2 separate regions of the Homo sapiens genome follow, and region 2 is linked to region 1. Evidence: promoter capture Hi-C in 16 types of primary human blood cells and fetal thymus (Javierre and others, 2016). All regions are on one chromosome and are shown on one strand. Each heading gives the region's core, a stretch centred on a gene start or on the middle of the fragment in contact. The rest is flanking DNA. Distances are from core to core; before and after follow the strand shown. Region 1 holds the start of SCG3 (secretogranin III). Region 2 overlaps LYSMD2 (LysM domain containing 2).

Region 1 (5,389 bases), core at 1,630-4,129:
TGCAACCTCCACCTCCCGGGTTCAAGTGATTCTCCTGCCTCAGCTTCCCAAGTAGCTGGGACTACAGGCGCGTGCCACCACGCCCAGCTAATTTTTGCATTTGTAGTAGAGACGGGGTTTCACCATGTTGGTCAGGATGGTCTCAATCGCTTGACCTCATGATGAAGTCTGGGGTTTTTAATGGATAAACAACTCATTGGGGTATGAAGTGGACGGAAATATAGAATAAAAAGAATGGTCATGAGTTAATGATAATTGAGGTTGGGTAGTGGATTCATGCATGCTTATTTCAATATTTCCTCTACTTTTGTGCTTGAAATTTTCTATAAAAATACAATAATAATTAATATATTTTTTCTGTAATAAATGAAAGCATCCTACAAATGTCTCTACCTTCAAGACTCAGCTCAAAAATAATATTCTCCACTAGTGAATGAGCGCACCACAATTGTTCCATTTGTGTTGACAAATGAACAAGCAGCATTGACAAACTCACTGTGCATTGTACATTGTTGATTTAATAATTATCTGATCTGTGTCAATGTTATTTGTCTTGTAATTTCAACATATATTTTCATATTATTCCATGTTTATAGTGTTCTCACACATAAGAATCAAATATTTTAATCTTTTTATTATTAATAAAAGGGCTGTCTTCTCTTTGAAATCTTTCCTGACCATTCATTCCATTATTTGGACAGACTCTACTTGAGCTTTGCAAATACAAAAAGGACACATAACACTCTCTTGTACTTATTCATTCACTTATATTTCAATAAGAATAGTGTGTTGCATGTGAAACCTGTTCACCAAATAGTTGTTGTTATATTCACAATATTTTCTCTCTACTAGGCTATAGGACTAGCAGTGACTAGTGTCTTACTTGTCTTTGTACACCCAGCAACTATCTCAATACCTGGTACATTTCAGATGCTCAATAAACACCTGTTAAGTGAATTGATGAATAAATACAATTTAGGATTACTCCATTCACAGACCTATACTAAGTCCAGTGGTATCATCCATAAGGCTGAATAATGTAAACTAATTCATGCCTATGTTTTACTCAATGCTCCACCACTCATTTGATCAGAAACATAACATGATCCTAGATTTAGTGTCCATTTAACATAATCACTTTAAGTCCAAATGGCAGAAAGAGACAAAATACCCTTTTTCTTTTGGGCAAGCAATGCAATGTACTCAACAGACATCCCTGACCTTCATCCCATCCTGAATCTCTCCCAATTGCAAACATGTATTGAGGAGATAAATGAGTCAGGAATGGGACAAAGGACAAAGTGAAGCTGAGGGATTAGGTCAGTGAGTCTCAGGATCAGTGAATGGCTATTTCAGATAGCGTTGGGTAATGTTTCATAAAAGCTGAAAACGTTTCATGACTTATTTTCTTAGGCTGTATCAAAATATTCTTGGTATCAAAATGACTAGTTCAAAACATGTACCCATTTGATCTTCATAATAACAGTGTGAGGTAAACAGAGCCTGTCATTTCCATCATAAAGAAAAGGAAACTAAGGAAATATACCCTTCATTCAGCTGGGATTTTAAAATATGACTTAATTTTTTAATGCAGTATACTGGGATAATAATGCTATGTTATTACTGCCAATAAAGAGTTTTTTGTTTTGAAGGAGCTGTTAGATTTAGAATACTCTTTAGATCCTCAAAGGAAGTATTTGAGTGACTTCCAAACTCAAAAACCTCCGGAGCAAGGGAGATTTGTTTGTCAGCTTGGTTGTTTGTTTGTTTTTAGGTACTTGAATAACTTCCTCCTTGAAAAGGAGGGTGCAGAAATCAAAGGCCTGATTGTGCTGAATCCTTCTCTTTGGTCATTATTCAGACTGGTTCCCAGCATGCCGCAGTCCAGAGGAAAAGGTCCAAGTTCTGTTTAAAAATCAGAGACTAAAGAGCTTACTCAGCATCCTGCTCACATTAATGTTGCTTGTTTTCATCATTTAAAGTCTTTTGATAGTTCCTTGTATACAATAACCTTAGGCTTCTGGGAATATTCTCAGAACATAGGAAGCACCTCCCTGACTTAGTAAAGATGAAAAATGCTTTTCATGACTATCCCCTCTCTTGAAGGACCCCCTGGAACAGCCAGGTCTTTGGGCATAATTAAATTCTGGGCAAGATTTTACAGAAATGCAGCTTCTTTTTTCTAATTTAGTTGTGTGGTGTGTGTGTGTAAAGTGGGGGAGGTTCCACTTGGTGGGGAAAGGAGAATTTGCCATTGCTGCTCGTCTACTCAGGACTGTTTCTGTTGTTGTTGTGTTTCAGCATCAGAGAGTGAGAGTGTATTGCAGCAATCTGACTATTTGGAAGACTGTTCCTTGAATTTCCCAATTCAAAAGCCTCGGTAGAGCTGAGGGATGCTTGATACGTCAACACAGACCACAAAAGGCAGGGCTTTTCTAAAGAGATTATAATTATATCTACCTTTTGGGTACAGGAGGTGAATGGAAGGAAGGGATTCTGGAGCAGATATCCCAAAAGAAGAATCCCGAAGCAGAACTCCTCGCACAAGGTTATCTAAATCTCCTTGACAGGTGCACAGGCAGAGAAGGCATTTGGCCCTTGAAGTAACATTTACTTGAGAGGTTGGGACAATTCTGTCACGCTTAGGACAAGCCAGCTGACCCTGAGCCCAGGAGCACCCTAGGACTGCAGCACAGAAAATACACCAGCTGGCCGGTCGCCCCTCCTTTGTTCCATTCCCGGGGGATTGGAGTAGCGTTGGAGTCACCGACGCCATCCCCTCCCGCCTCTGGCGTGCATGGAGCATGCGCTTCCTTCCTCACTTCCTCTGCAGGAGGGAGCGAGAGTAAAGCTACGCCCTGGCGCGCAGTCTCCGCGTCACAGGAACTTCAGCACCCACAGGGCGGACAGCGCTCCCCTCTACCTGGAGACTTGACTCCCGCGCGCCCCAACCCTGCTTATCCCTTGACCGTCGAGTGTCAGAGATCCTGCAGCCGCCCAGTCCCGGCCCCTCTCCCGCCCCACACCCACCCTCCTGGCTCTTCCTGTTTTTACTCCTCCTTTTCATTCATAACAAAAGCTACAGCTCCAGGAGCCCAGCGCCGGGCTGTGACCCAAGCCGAGCGTGGAAGAATGGGGTTCCTCGGGACCGGCACTTGGATTCTGGTGTTAGTGCTCCCGATTCAAGCTTTCCCCAAACCTGGAGGAAGCCAAGGTATGTGAACACTTTTCTTCTTCCTACCTTCCTTTTATTTCGCCACGAAAAGGTAAAGTTTGGCATAATACGTGAGCTGTAAATCACCCTGACGCGTTTTCTGATCAAATCATATCCATGAATACGGACAGAGAAATCAGTTCGAATTTAGAGACAGAAGACAGATTTTTTTTCTTCACTTTTAAAATGATAGAGCAATAATATGGGTTGTTTTTAAAGATCTTATTTTGAAAAGGGAAGGGAACCTTTTTCACCTAAAGTGGCTTGGATTGTTTTCTAGTTGCCTTACAACCTTTCTCAGACAGTCTATTCATTATATATGCAGTATATGATGAAAGAGCTTTTAGTGTGCCAATAATACCAATCCAAATTATGCTCTCTCTAGCTGAGAATAGCTGATAACCCTAGTGTTAGAACTATATGTTAAATTTCTGGTCAGAAAAAAAAAAAAGTGTGATTCTGTCAGCTCAAGAAATACACCAAGATAATAAACAAGGCAATATTGATAATTACTATTATTGTATAATCTTGATAATCTTTGTTAATATGCATTTGTTTCATAGTCATCCAAAATTATTTCTCCTAATATTTTTCCTTTTTATAAAAATTTTATTTAATAAGAGGCATATTTTGTCCTTCAACGCACAATTAAATTTATATTCACATGTGTTTATTCTAGACAAATCTCTACATAATAGAGAATTAAGTGCAGAAAGACCTTTGAATGAACAGGTAGGTCAAAAGTAACATTATGAATGCTATTTCATTTTGATTTAGTTATTATTATTTAATGTAATTATGCTGTGACATTTTGGTCATTTTGAATTTACAAACATCAGGAACTTAATAGTTAATTGACAGAAATTAGGACGGGAAATCTAGTTTTGGTAAATTCTATGCCCTAGCAGTTATTTACATTGAGTTCTGTATAATGAATACATAGAGTAACTATATAATAACCCAGTAAGCTCAGCATCACATCCACTCTGTTGTAAGATTGCCTAATTTACCAGAGATTTCTCTTTCAACAATATTATAGGAGAAAGAAATTAACACTGACTGAGCATCTACCCTTAATTTTATCTCATTTAATTATTATAACAGTGCTCTGAAATAGGAATTATCCACATTTTACAAACAAGACAATTAAATCCCATGGAGATTAAATCATTTGGCTCTTGTACTTGGTAAGTAGTGGAGCAATGATTTTAAACCAAGTCTATCTCCTGTTTGCTTCACAGATTGCTGAAGCAGAAGAAGACAAGATTAAAAAAACATATCCTCCAGGTAAAAAGAAATCATATTGATGTTAATTTAAATAATGTAGGCTATGAGAATCTGAACTAAAATGGCTGTGTTGGGTTTGGGGCTATTCTTCCAGAAAACAAGCCAGGTCAGAGCAACTATTCTTTTGTTGATAACTTGAACCTGCTAAAGGCAATAACAGAAAAGGAAAAAATTGAGAAAGAAAGACAATCTATAAGAAGCTCCCCACTTGATAATAAGTTGAATGTGGAAGATGTTGATTCAACCAAGAATCGAAAACTGATCGATGATTATGACTCTACTAAGAGTGGATTGGATCATAAATTTCAAGGTAAATGAGAAAAAAAGAACTTTTTGTTAACGTGGAGTTTCCTATAATGGGTTAAGAGAAAGTCCAATATTTTAAAAATATCTTTTAAACATTCATAATCCTTTATTAGTCAAGTCCAAAATTGAGATAAAGCATATATTTACTGATAACATGTAGAGCCCCAGCTCCACAGAGTGCCATATTTTATTTTCCCTTTAAAAATTCCTTTAGTGATGCTCTGAAAACATTTTTTAATCTAGTATTTGTATTTTATGGTATTAAATTCATTTGAACATTCAGATTTATTTTAACAATGAGTACACACAAAATATCATAATTTTCAAATAATTAGATCAGTAAAGTACCCTCCCACCCTGCACAAAAAAGGTGAAATATCCACTATTTCCTTTTCAGTGTTTCCTCCTAGCCATATCTTTTCTCCTTAGGTCATCCTAACCTTTACGTGGCTTCAATTACATCTATATCCTAACATCCCATATCACTAGGCCAGACTTCTCTTAGCTATAGACCTATTTATCTGTTTACCTATTCGACATTTTCCCTTGGCAGTGTCAGAAGCACCTCAAATTTAGCATGCC
Region 2 (4,879 bases), core at 1,979-4,478, 45 kb after region 1:
ACTTATTATACAATATCCACTTGCCAAAGAAGGAATATATCAACTTAGAATATTGTGCATGCCTAGACAACTGTATGAAATGCCAATACTTAAGACATACCTTACTATCTCCATTTTATTCATATCTCAGTTATTAGAATAAATAATGTCATTCATTTATGTATTTATATTTGCTTATATTTACATATATTTTAAATCTATACTAAATTATATTCATATTTATATTTGTTTATGTTTTCTATATTCTACCTCTTTCCCAAAAGGATTTAAGGTACTAACAACAAAAGGCATATATACAATAAGATTAATAAAATAGAAATAAAAAAATCAGGACTAAGGAAAGGAGAAGGAAACCAATGTATTAATCATAAGAAATATTATAGGAGTTGAACACAGGTATCAATTTTAGTTGCAAGCTTCCCAATAGCCAGAGCAAAAAAGGAAACACAGTAGATTGTACTTTTTTGAAATCAAATCATAAAGAAAAAAGGAAACCAATTCTATAGGAGAGAGAAAGATTTGCCCTAATATCAAATTTAAAAAACAAAGAAAAAAGTTCACATGAGATCTTATGTAGGAAACACCCAGTAACAAATAACAGACAATGTCTTTGACAAGTTTTGCAACTATCAATATTTTACAAGTATTTTCTATGACACTACTTCTCTTGAAAGTGTCAGTGAGAGAGACACTTTTATTTTGCCGCTATCCAGAAGTGCTAGCTGGACAGTGACGCTATTAAAGCAAAGAAGCAAACTTTTTATAGTAAATAACAGATAAAAACACTGCAACAGATAAAGCCTTGTGCATCAGGCAGCAGCTCTGTTTAGAGTTTATATACTAAAAATGCCTTTCTAGAACTAAAATGCAGTTTTTAAAGCAAAAAAAGAAAGAAAGAAAGAAATTAAGAAAGGAAGAAATTAAGAAAGAAAGAAATTAAGAAAAAAAGAAAAAAAATCAGAAAGAAAGAAAAGAAAAGAAAAGGCAAAGAAAAGAGAAAAGAAAGATTTGGCCCAGCAAGGACATCTTAATAGTGATTTATTTAGACTTTGACATTTGTACCAGGGTATTCTTACCTGCTCTCTTCTTTTAGCTTCTTGGCTGCCTGTGTTGATAACTTAATCTGCAAGTCAAGTCTCTGCAGGAAATCTCTGGCTGACACTTCCTCAGGCTGCACAGGCTGAACATCAGATTCTTGAGGACTGGGAGGAGGGAGGTCTTCCCCGGCCACCACTGGCTCCTCTTCCTGAGAAAAACTGTTATCAGCAGTTTCATTTTCTGGAGAATCAATGGAGTTAAGTCCATTAAACAACAAAGGCTTCTCTGATATAACTGGGATGTTCAAAGTTTTCTTCAGAAATATACAATCATTGGTAAACAGTTTATTGGCCCTTTTAATCTGTTCCATCTAAAATATAAAAAAGGAGACACAGAATTACATATAACCAAGTCAAGGAGTAAGATTTATTATACAATACAGAACTACCAATATTCATAAGCAAAATGTACACAATGCTTTCTTGGGATTTGAGACTCTTCATTCAGGTTTGGTAACCTCCCCAGATATCTCTAGTTATTTCAAGAGATGTTGGAGAATTGTTTCCCAATTTTTAAAAAGGACAGACTAATTTTTCCACATTATACTATTTCTACTACAAGGCAGCTTTTAACATCAGTGGACTTAAATCTCTGAAGTTTAAAAATGTAAAATTTTTAGCACTTAATAAATTCCATTCTTGTTTTAACATTTCTATTATCTGATTTTTTTTAAACTTACCATTGCTGCTGTTTTACTTATGAAGTGCTTCCCATGTCTCTAGAACTGTACTTAGTAAATACAGTTACTGTATGAACATGAGCTTGTTACTTATATCATTGATCCTTTCTCCTCATGTGTAAAACAGGTACCATCTACCTTTCACAGGGTTGTTGCAAGGATTAAATGAGAGCTTATATACCCACTCACATCAAGGAAATATATATATATGAGAGAATATATAAAAATATATGTACATTCTATACATATATTCCCATATATATCTATATGGAAAGAGAGAGAGAAAGTAGTGATTAGAGTGTCTGGCAGTGGATGGTACTTACTACTCTCCACTTTGCGATGAAGAAATCAAAACACAAAAGAGATGGTAGATTTGACCAAGTACATATGGCTCTTTAAATGTTTAAAATGGGATTTTTGTCTGACTCCGAAGTCCGTACAACATCTGAATTAAAGTACACAACTAATGAAATCACATTATGGGGAGCCTTTAATGCCAAATGAATTCTGAGTAAAAACAAAAAAATTGTATTTCTACTTCAAAAAGCCTGCAAAAACAACAGTCAACTAAGTGGACCCTGTTCATCCTGCTTTGTTATAAGCTGATTCCATGCAAATAGTACATGTAAAGCTTTCTTTTTTCTTCTAAAGATACTCCATTAAAGGAATGAGATTTTTAAAAAGGATGGTCTTTTGTGTTCTCGTTTCTAGTTTAAGGGGAGAAAGAGAACATAAACATGGGCAGGTGCCTTTTAGAGACAAAATTAAAATCTAAAAACCCCAAGTATCTCTGGTCTAGTTCAGGTTTGAAAGGGTTAATAACTTGGACACTTTGCCCGTAGCAGGTTCAGGTATACCTATTGCTATTTCGCCTTTAGGACCCCTAGATCTTGCCCCCAAGCATCCAGCTGCTCTATCTCTCTTAGTGCATAGGCTTCCAATGACACTAAGCCCTCCCCTGGCTCCAGAGTGAGCATATGACTCATTCCTGCCCTGGGGAGCATCACAGGCTTTTGTGATAGATCACAGACCCATGACAGAATCATTCAGACATGCAAAGAGACTCCTGCAGGACGGTAGTCGAGGGGAGAGTTCTCTACTGCTTTCTGCTGGAAGGAGATAGGCTGGAGATGCTGGCAGTCATCCTGGCACCTTGTGGAATCTGATACTGGAGTCACCTTAGAGGTGAGCATTTGAACTTCTGGATCACAGCCTGAAGACAGAACATGCTCAGTTCCAAGATCCACTAAACTCCACTTGGAGTTTGTTTTTTGTTTAGGCCAATTTGAGTTAGGTTTTCTGTCACTTGTAGCTGAAAGAGCTCTTGCTGATACAGTGCCCTTTGAAATGCTTATCAGAAGGGGACTACGACTGCTAATAGTCATTGCTTCCTGGGAATAATGATGGAAGACAGAAACAGATGGGACCAGGATCCAAACTGCTGAGCAGAGCTAGGAACTGCAAGAGTACACTATTAATTCTTTGAGGGCAAGAACTGGTTATTGCTATAGCCTTCCTGGTCTGACAAAGATCTCATACACACTAAGTGCTTAGGATGGATGGACAGGTGGATGGAAGGATGGATGGATGGATGAATTAACGCAGGTCAGAGGAGTGGGCATGGAAGATGAAGTAATCAGAAATGGGTAGTAAGTTATCTGTCGTGCTGCTTATTCTCCTTTCAAACCCACTCTCCCCTCCCAATCCATTCCTCCACTCTTCTTGGGCTTATTCTAAACCCTAGGAGGCTGACTTTTTAAGAACGGCATTACCCAGGTCCCCTTGTCCTTGGAATTCCAGTTGGTTTTCAAACAGCAGCAGAACGACCTTACCATAACCAGTGGCTGCATTCCTCTCTGGTGAGAGTTCCTATCAGGAGTCCCAGATCCAAGGCTCCAGATCTTGCCAGTGTTCCCTTGGCCCTTCAGGCCTAGGGGTAATGTCTCCCTGCTATTGCTAGTCTCTGGGTGCTTCAACTTCCCTTGTTGGTTCCCTCAACTATGCCCACATTCAGTAAATGTCCCTTTATTAAACTCTCTTCGGCCACATCCTCTGAGAGTGTTATCTGTATTCTGCTGCAATGCTGACAGATACATCTATCATACAGAGCACAATGGGCCATCAAGGCCAGGCAAGGGGCCTACAGAGGACTAGACAAGGTGACAGACTCAGAGGCTGTGTGCAGTCAGGGAGTCCACAGGCAGTGAAGGGCTAGGCTCCCCCTGGCTTCTGTACATACTGCTGCACAAGTGACTCACTATAACTGGTCCACAAGCTTCCTAAAGTCAGGGGCTCCACTGTCTTCATCTCAATGTCATTAGTAAGCATTTAAGATGTATGTGGACCTTTATGGTCTAGACTACAAGATGACACACAAGATGACAGAGTCAAGAACACCAGGGATATTCAGACACAGTTAGCAACAAGGTGGGAACCAATCTAAGGACAGGGGCAGATTTGAGTCTTGAGTTTAATACAGCATAGTACTCAGAAGCATGGGTTCAGGGGCCATACTTTCTGAGTTCACATCCTGGCTTTCCCACTTTCTAACCATTCCCTGTCGGTTTACTTATCAGTAAAGTAAGGATAGTAACAGTTCCTTCCTCTCCATATATCATAATGAATTAATTCATGTAAAGTATTTAGAACAACATATGGGCTGGGCGCAGTGGCTCATGCCTGTAATCCCAGCACTTTGGGAGGCCAAGGTCAGGAGTTTGAGACCAGCCTGACCAACATAGCAAAACCTCATTTCTACTAAAAAAAAGAAATACAAAAATTAGCCAGGCGTGGTGGCGCATGTCTGTAATTCCAGCTACTCGGGAGCCTGAGGCATGAGAATCACTTGAAGGTGGGAGGCAGAGGTTGCACTGAGCCGAGATCACAACATTGTACTCCAGGAGAAAACACACACACACACACACACACACACACACACACACATATGGCACACAAGAAGTACTCAAAGGTGTCAGCAATTATTATCATTAAATTTAATGAAAAGTAAGAAAGCAACAGGTAAGGGCAGATTCTAATGTATAATCAGCAAATGAGAAGGAAGAAGGTAGAAATTTTCTCCCATAAAATATTGTTTCTCAGCGG

The links. Contacts are between HindIII fragments. The CHiCAGO score rates a contact against its expected background, and 5 or more counts as called.
Region 2: a fragment that was not itself captured here is called in contact with the fragment with the promoter of SCG3 in region 1 in 1 of 17 cell types (M1 macrophages); the score reaches 5.8 in M1 macrophages.

The regions. Positions count from the first base shown.
Region 1 is chr15:51,678,624-51,684,012 of GRCh38, forward strand. It overlaps SCG3 (secretogranin III), which reads left to right and starts at 2,880. Exons shown (of 12, transcript NM_013243.4): 1 at 2,880-3,214; 2 at 3,894-3,946; 3 at 4,456-4,501; 4 at 4,596-4,811. The coding sequence starts at 3,133. The HindIII fragment of the contact is 6,229 bases long and covers 1-3,185 here.
Region 2 is chr15:51,723,714-51,728,592 of GRCh38, forward strand. It overlaps LYSMD2 (LysM domain containing 2), which reads right to left. Exons shown (of 3, transcript NM_153374.3): 2 at 1,077-1,408. Among named protein-coding and RNA genes, the nearest start is that of LYSMD2, 12 kb to the right of the region's middle. RefSeq lists a silencer at 2,700-2,759. The HindIII fragment of the contact is 1,644 bases long and covers 2,407-4,050 here.